Regions from separate parts of the Homo sapiens genome. Here regions 1 and 2 are each linked to region 3. The links are contacts of gene promoters, found by promoter capture Hi-C in human tissues and cell types (Jung and others, 2019). All regions are on one chromosome and are shown on one strand. The core of a region is centred on a gene start or on the middle of the fragment in contact, and the rest is flanking DNA. Distances in the headings are between cores, read along the strand shown.

What was found. The method cuts DNA at HindIII sites, captures the fragments that hold promoters and counts their contacts. A contact is called where the count stands out against the background at its distance.
Region 1: a fragment that was not itself captured here is called in contact with the fragment with the promoter of EPO in region 3 in 1 of the 25 tissues and cell types used here (aorta).
Region 2: a fragment that was not itself captured here is called in contact with the fragment with the promoter of EPO in region 3 in 1 of the 25 tissues and cell types used here (dorsolateral prefrontal cortex).

The regions. Positions count from the first base shown.
Region 1 is chr7:100,356,186-100,358,885 of GRCh38, forward strand. PILRB (paired immunoglobin like type 2 receptor beta) reads left to right here and starts at 1,932. Exons shown (of 4, transcript NM_178238.4): 1 at 1,932-2,181; 2 at 2,505-2,700. The coding sequence starts at 2,118. It overlaps STAG3L5P-PVRIG2P-PILRB (STAG3L5P-PVRIG2P-PILRB readthrough), which reads left to right. Exons shown (of 17, transcript NR_036570.1): 13 at 565-698; 14 at 2,035-2,181. It overlaps MIR6840 (microRNA 6840), which reads left to right and starts at 466; the gene lies at 466-536. The HindIII fragment of the contact is 7,568 bases long and covers 1-2,700 here.
Region 2 is chr7:100,452,107-100,454,806 of GRCh38, forward strand. No RefSeq gene overlaps it. Among named protein-coding and RNA genes, the nearest start is that of SPACDR, 11 kb to the right of the region's middle. The HindIII fragment of the contact is 6,473 bases long and covers 1-2,700 here.
Region 3 is chr7:100,719,065-100,721,764 of GRCh38, forward strand. EPO (erythropoietin) reads left to right here and starts at 1,404. Exons shown (of 5, transcript NM_000799.4): 1 at 1,404-1,929; 2 at 2,494-2,639. The coding sequence starts at 1,917. The HindIII fragment of the contact is 31,866 bases long and covers 1-2,700 here.

The DNA of each region.
Region 1 (2,700 bases), core at 90-2,589, 360 kb before region 3:
TCAGGCAGGGTGGGCCACCCTCTTGAGGCCTTGCCCAAACAGCCAGGGGGTCCCTTGTCCTCTTTTCGGCCCACCTTTGCAGGTGGGACCAGTTCAGTCCAAAGCCCCGGTGCCTCAGTTTCCCTGTGGGTTGAACAAGGAGAATGAGGTGTATAGGGCCTGGCTCAGACGGAGGGGTTTCCTGAGCATGGGGAGCCTGTTTCCTCAGACCTGTGAAGGGAAGGAGGGTGGATCGGCCTGACTGGCCCTGGGAAGCACAGAGGAGCCTACTGGGACCAGGGAAGAGACTGACAAGAGAAGGGAGGCCTGTCCCTGCCTGCTTCTGTCTCAAGAAGATTGTTATCACTTCCTCTGGTGAAATCCTGCCTTCCTGTCCCCACGGCCCCTCAGCTGATGCCACCTTACTCTGGAGAGGATGGGCAGAGCCTCCTATGGAGGGAGCCCTGTGGGTCACCAAAGCTCCAGTGACCACCCCCGGGCAAAGACCTGCAGATCCCCTGTTAGAGACGGGCCCAGGACTTTGTGCGGGGTGCCCACTGTTGCTCTGAGCCTTCACTTCCTCAGGGAGGCTTCCTCAGGATCTCGAACCTGCGGAAGGAGGACCAGTCTGTGTACTTCTGCCAAGTCCAGCTGGACATACAGATCAGGGAGGCTGTCGTGGCAGTCCATCAAGGGGACCCACCTCACCATCACCCAGGGTGAGTCCAGCTGCCCTGGCACCAAGGAACCTTCCTGGTTCAGCCATAGGCTCAGGTGTGTGGAGGGAATGACCTGAGGGGCTGTATGAGGGAACAACCTCCTGGGGCTCCCCTATGCCTGAGTTCCTGCAACTCAGAAGTTGAGGCCCAGAGATCCAGGTAGAGGGGGCTCCAGTCCTGGGACTGCCCTGCAAGTCATGTGGCCTGGGACAGGGCTTCTCCAAGCTCTGTCCCCTCCTGTGTAGGGCAGGGAGGTCAGAGGGGACCCTGCAGATCCAGTCTCATGTCTGGGGGTCAAGGGGTGGCCTCGAGAGGGACCAGTCTCTGTGTAGGGGACCGTCAGCCCCCTCACCCCTTGAGCAAGACTGTGGTCCCTGCACCAAGGGAGCAGGCCTGGGGTGGGAAGAGGCCAGCTGGGCTGTGGTGGTGCCTGGGGACTGCATGGGAGCCCCTGCCAGGGAGGGAGAGGGACAGAGGACAAGCTGGGGGCTCTGGTGCTTGGGCTGGGGGCTGAGCGCCTGTGACCTCCACTGGCTTCCTCCTTCTCCTCTCTGAGGACTGAATCTGGGGTGCAGCAGAGCACAGACTCAGGCCCGCCTTTCCTCTCCCTGAAAGAGCCTGCGCTGGCCTTGGACAGAGAAAGGGATGAGAAGTGAGGCTGAGTGCGGTGGGGTCTGCAGGGATCCAGGTGGGAGGGGCCCAGCCAGCCAAGGTGAGGCCCAGCCCCTCAGCAGGAAGATGGGCACTGGGGCCCTTGGGCAGGGCTGACTTGACACTTTTGTGTGACTTGAGCCACTGTGCCCAGCCTGAACACCCTTTCCTGGTAAAACACTCCACAAACCAGGAAGAGAAGGAATGTACTGCAACAAAATAAAGGCCAGTCATGCAAGGCCCATGGCTGAAAGTCTTTCAGTCATTTTAGATGAAAGACTGAAATCTTTGCCTCCAAGATCAGGAACAAGAGAAGGATGCCCGCTCTCACTACTTCTATTCAACACAGGATTTGAAGTCAGGCCGGGCACAGTGGCTCACGCCTGTAATCCCAGCACTTTTGGAGGCTGAGGCGGGCAGATTACTTGAGCCTATGAGTGTGAGACCACCCTGGCCAACATGGCAAAACCCCATCTCTACTAAAAAAAAAAAAAAAAAAAGGATTTGAAGTCCTGGCCGGAGCAATTAGGCAAGGGATAAAAAGGCACCTAAGGCCCTTTTGCAATAAGAAGCCAGATGGATAAAGGAAGTGCTGGTCACCCTGGAGGTGTACTGGTTTGGGGAAGGTCCCCGGCCCCCACAGCCCTCTGGGGAGCCTCACCCTGGCTCTCCCCACTCACCTCAGCCCTCAGGCAGCCCCTCCACAGGGCCCCTCTCCTGCCTGGACAGCTCTGCTGGTCTCCCCGTCCCCTGGAGAAGAACAAGGCCATGGGTCGGCCCCTGCTGCTGCCCCTGCTGCTCCTGCTGCAGCCGCCAGCATTTCTGCAGCCTGGTGAGTACCCAGGACCGCCCAGGTATGGTCTCTGCCCAAACCACAGGAGGGGCCAACCCAAGACAAAGGCAGAACATCTGGGGCAGGGGCCAGGCTCCCACCTCCAGCAAACAAGGGCGGGTCCCATAGGGGTGGGTGCCGCCATCTCTTCCCCCTCCACCCTCCCCCATGCCTGAAGAGTGGGAGACCCAGGCCAGAGGTCAGTCCAGCCACCTGTCACACGACTGCCTGTGGGTGAAGGTGTGGGAGGGTCTGGGGTCACCCTCTTTGTGTCCTGAGGTGGTTTCAAGGTCTCTCCCCCACTCACTCCCTCCTTCCTCTAGGTGGCTCCACAGGATCTGGTCCAAGCTACCTTTATGGGGTCACTCAACCAAAACACCTCTCAGCCTCCATGGGTGGCTCTGTGGAAATCCCCTTCTCCTTCTATTACCCCTGGGAGTTAGCCATAGTTCCCAACGTGAGAATATCCTGGAGACGGGGCCACTTCCACGGGCAGTCCTTCTACAGCACAAGGCCGCC
Region 2 (2,700 bases), core at 62-2,561, 270 kb before region 3:
TTTTTTTGAGACAGAGTCTCGCCCTGTCACCGGGCTGGAGTGCAGTGGTGCAATCTCCACTCACTACAACCTCTACCTCCCGGGTTCAAGCAATTCTCCTGCCTCAGCCTCCCAAGTAGCTGGGACTACAGGTGAGTGCCGCCACGCCTGGCTAATTTTTCGTATTTTTAGTAGAGACGGGGTTTCACTGCGTTAGCCAGAATGGTCTCCATCTCCTGACCTCGTGATCCACCTGCCTCAGCCTCCCAAAGTGCTGGGATTACAGGTGTGAGCCACCATGCCCGGCCTGGAATCTGTGTTTTTAACAAGCTCTCAGGAGATTGTGATATGTCCTAAGCTTCAGAATCCCAACAGTCTACATTCCCATGCAGTGTGGCAGTGATTCCCAAACTTCAGCAGGCGTGTTCAAACAGATTGCTGGCCCCCATCCTAGGGTTTTTGATTCAGTAGGTCTGCGGTGCAGGGCCTGGAGTTTGAATTTCTACTACTCTCTGGGGAATGCGATGCTCTGGTCCAGGACCACACTCTAATAACTATTTCATTTATTTTCCTTTTTTTTTTTTCTTGAGACAGAGCCTTGCTTTTGAGACAGAGATTCAGACAGGTTAATTCACTTGCTGAAGGTCACACAGCCAGGAAAGGCAGAATTTGAACCTGGTCTTTGTGAGCCCAAAGGCTGGGCTGGTTCTGTCTCCGGCAACTGCTAGTTAGCACCTCCCAGGAACTTACCTTGTTTCTGCAGGTTAACTCAACACTCCCTGAAGCCTGAGGAAGTTTGTTATTTTTATTTTTATTTTTTGAAGACAGAGTCTGATTCTATCGCCCAGGCTGGAGTTCAGTGGCGTGATCTCAGCTCACTGCAACCTCTGCCTCCCAGGTTCAAGCAATTCTCCTGTCTCAGCCTCCCGAGTAGCTGGGATGACAGGTGCGCGCCACCATGCCCAGCTAATTTTTTTTTCTTTTTTTGAGATGGAGTCTCACTCTGTCACCCAGACCAGAGTGCAGTGGCAAGATCTCAGCTCACTGCAAGCTCCGCCTCCCAGGTTGACACCATTCTCCTGCCTCAGCCTTCCAAGTAGCTAGGGCTACAGGTGCCGGCTACCACGCCCAGCTAATTTTTTGTATTTTTAGTAGAGACGGGGTTTCACCGTGTTAGCCAGGATGGTCTCGATCTCCTGACCTCGTGATCCTCCCACCTCGGCCTCCCAAAGTGCTGGGATTACAGGCGTGAGCCACCATGCCCAGCCAATTTTTGTATTTTTAGTAGAGGGTTTCGTCATGTTAGCCAGGCTGGTCTCGAACTCCTGACGTCAGGTGATCCACCCACCTCAGCCTCCCAAAGTGCTGGGATTACAGGTGTGAGCCACTGTGCCCAGCCATCAAGTCATCATTTTATTTAAGGAGCTTGAGTCTCAGTGAAGGAAAGTGACTCTCAAAAATCACCAAGTGCCTGCGATCCCAGCCCTTTGGGAGGCAGAAGCAGGAGGATTGACCAGGAGATGGAGGCTATAGTGAGCTATGATTGTGCCACTGTCCTCCTGTCTGGCCAACTGAGCGAGACTCTGTCTCAAAAATAAATAAAAAATAAAAATAAGAGTCGTACAGCAAAGTAGTAGCAATATTGAGACTAGGACCAAGGTCTCTTGACTCCGCATCAAGGGCTCCTCCTACTACTTCCTGCACATGGTATTCTTTATCACTTCCAAAATGACATTCCTAGCTGGGTGCAGTGGTTCACACCTGTAATCCCAGCACTTTGGGAGGCCGAGGTAGGAGGATTGCTTGAGGCCAGGAGTTTGAGACCAGACTGGGCAACATAGCTAGAACCCATCGCCACAAATATTAAAAAAGAATTAGCTGGGCATGGTGGCATACACCTGTAGTTTCAGCTATTCGGGAGGCTGTGGTGGGAGGATCGCTTGAGTCCAGGAGTTGGAGGCTGCAGTGAGCCATGATTGCGCCACTGCCCTCCAGCCTGGGCAACAGAGCCAGACCCTGTCTCTAAAAAACAAAAACCACTGGCCGGGTGCAGTGGCTCACGCCTGTAATCCTAGCACTTCGGGGAGCTGAGACAGGTGGATCATCTGAGGTCAGGAGTGCAAGACCAGCCTGGACAACATGGTGAGACCCTGTCTCTACTAAAAATACAAAAGTTAGCCGGGTGTGGCCAGGCGCGGTGGCTCATGCCTGTAATCCCAGCACTTTGGGAGGCCAAGGCAGGCGGATCACGAGGTCAGGAGATCAAGACGATCCTGGCTAACATGGTGAAACCCCGTTCTCTACTAAAAATACGAAAAAAAATTAGCCGGGCGTGGTGGCATGTACCTGTAATCCCAGCTACTCAGGAGGCTGAGGCAGGAGAATGGTGTGAACCCGGGAGGCGGAGCTTGCCGTCAGCGGAGATCATGCCACTGCACTACAGCCTGGGTGACAGAGTGAGACTCTGTCTCAAAAAAAAAAAAAAAAAAACCAAAAAACAAAAACGGTTACATGGGTGTGGTGGCAAGCACCTGTAATCCCAGCTACTCCAGAGGCTGAGGCAGGAGAACCACTTGAACCCCACGGGCGGAGGTTGCAATGAGCCGAGATCACACCACTGCACTCCAGCCTTGGCGATAGAGTGAGACTCCATCTCAAAAAAACACACAAAAAAACTGTCATCAAGAGGCAGCTTCCTTCTGCCCACCCCTTTCCTTCCTC
Region 3 (2,700 bases), core at 154-2,653:
TTTGCTGAATCGACAATCCCCCACCCACCTCATACCTCTTCCCATTGATGTCCTACCCCCCTTCAAGGCTGAGGTCATTGTCACCTCCTCCCTCAAATCTTTCTTGATTTCTCCCGGCTAACTCTTACAGCTCAGATCTACACATTCCAGTCTTTTTTTGTTTTTGAGACAGGCTCTCACTCTGTCGCCCAGGCTGCAGTGCAGTGGCACGATCATGGCTCACTACGGCCTCGAACTCCTGGGCTCAGGTGATCCTCCTGCCTTAGCCTCCTGCATATTTGGGACTACAGGCGTGAGCCACCACACCTGACTAATTATTTTTTATTTATTTATTTATTTTAGAGACAAGGTCTTGCCATGTTGTCCGGGCTGGTCTCGAACTCCTGGGCTCAAAGGATCTTCCTGCCTTGGTCTCCCAAAGTGCTGGGATTATAGGTGTCAGCTGCGGCGCCTGGACCTTTCCTGTCTTTTATGAAACCTGAATGGGATAGGCTGGTAGTTTCACCACACCCATTTGACAGATGAGGACATTGAGGGCTCAAGGACGAGGCCACTTTCTAAGGTGTGAGAGACCAGCTAGTCTTGGTCTCCTGCTCTGGGAATCTCACTCCTCTGGCTCAGGGTTTCCAGAAGCCATAAAACCTTAGCTGTAAATCCCAGCCCCCATCACTCTTGGTGTTAGCTGTATTTCAGTGTTCTTAAGAACTCAGCAATGCAGCCTAGCTAACCTACACCACAGGTCAAATAAACAGATGTCAAGGTGCATGTGTGTCCTGCACAATGGACTGTGTGCTCTGTGCACTAAAAGTTAAGTGTCTGGGGTGGGGGCTGGGTGCGGTGGCTCACGCCTGCAATCCCAGCACTTTGAGAGGCCGAGGAGGGTGGATCACCTGAGGTCAGGAGTTCAAGACCGGTATGGGCAATATGGCAACACCCCATCTCTACTAAAAATACAAAACATAGCCGGGTGTAAAGGTGTGCCTGTAGTCCCAGCTGCTCCAGAGGCTGAAGCAGGAGAATTGCTTGAACCCAGGAGGCAGAGGTTGTAGTGAACGGGAGATGGCACCACTGCACTGCCTGGGCAACATAGGGAGGCTACATCTCCAGAAAAAAAAAAAAAAGTTAAGTGTCTGGGTTTGCAGAGTACTAGACGGTGAGGAGTGAGGTGGGGAGGAAGAACCCCAAATTTCTTGCCCTATTTGCCCCCATCAAATTCCTCAACATGGTCAACATTGTTTCTAGAACATGTCCTGGGATTGTGGGAAGGGAGACCACTCATTTGCCCCTCCCTAAAGCTTCTGGGCTTCCAGACCCAGCTACTTTGCGGAACTCAGCAACCCAGGCATCTCTGAGTCTCCGCCCAAGACCGGGATGCCCCCCAGGGGAGGTGTCCGGGAGCCCAGCCTTTCCCAGATAGCACGCTCCGCCAGTCCCAAGGGTGCGCAACCGGCTGCACTCCCCTCCCGCGACCCAGGGCCCGGGAGCAGCCCCCATGACCCACACGCACGTCTGCAGCAGCCCCGCTCACGCCCCGGCGAGCCTCAACCCAGGCGTCCTGCCCCTGCTCTGACCCCGGGTGGCCCCTACCCCTGGCGACCCCTCACGCACACAGCCTCTCCCCCACCCCCACCCGCGCACGCACACATGCAGATAACAGCCCCGACCCCCGGCCAGAGCCGCAGAGTCCCTGGGCCACCCCGGCCGCTCGCTGCGCTGCGCCGCACCGCGCTGTCCTCCCGGAGCCGGACCGGGGCCACCGCGCCCGCTCTGCTCCGACACCGCGCCCCCTGGACAGCCGCCCTCTCCTCCAGGCCCGTGGGGCTGGCCCTGCACCGCCGAGCTTCCCGGGATGAGGGCCCCCGGTGTGGTCACCCGGCGCGCCCCAGGTCGCTGAGGGACCCCGGCCAGGCGCGGAGATGGGGGTGCACGGTGAGTACTCGCGGGCTGGGCGCTCCCGCCCGCCCGGGTCCCTGTTTGAGCGGGGATTTAGCGCCCCGGCTATTGGCCAGGAGGTGGCTGGGTTCAAGGACCGGCGACTTGTCAAGGACCCCGGAAGGGGGAGGGGGGTGGGGCAGCCTCCACGTGCCAGCGGGGACTTGGGGGAGTCCTTGGGGATGGCAAAAACCTGACCTGTGAAGGGGACACAGTTTGGGGGTTGAGGGGAAGAAGGTTTGGGGGTTCTGCTGTGCCAGTGGAGAGGAAGCTGATAAGCTGATAACCTGGGCGCTGGAGCCACCACTTATCTGCCAGAGGGGAAGCCTCTGTCACACCAGGATTGAAGTTTGGCCGGAGAAGTGGATGCTGGTAGCTGGGGGTGGGGTGTGCACACGGCAGCAGGATTGAATGAAGGCCAGGGAGGCAGCACCTGAGTGCTTGCATGGTTGGGGACAGGAAGGACGAGCTGGGGCAGAGACGTGGGGATGAAGGAAGCTGTCCTTCCACAGCCACCCTTCTCCCTCCCCGCCTGACTCTCAGCCTGGCTATCTGTTCTAGAATGTCCTGCCTGGCTGTGGCTTCTCCTGTCCCTGCTGTCGCTCCCTCTGGGCCTCCCAGTCCTGGGCGCCCCACCACGCCTCATCTGTGACAGCCGAGTCCTGGAGAGGTACCTCTTGGAGGCCAAGGAGGCCGAGAATATCACGGTGAGACCCCTTCCCCAGCACATTCCACAGAACTCACGCTCAGGGCTTCAGGGAACTCCTC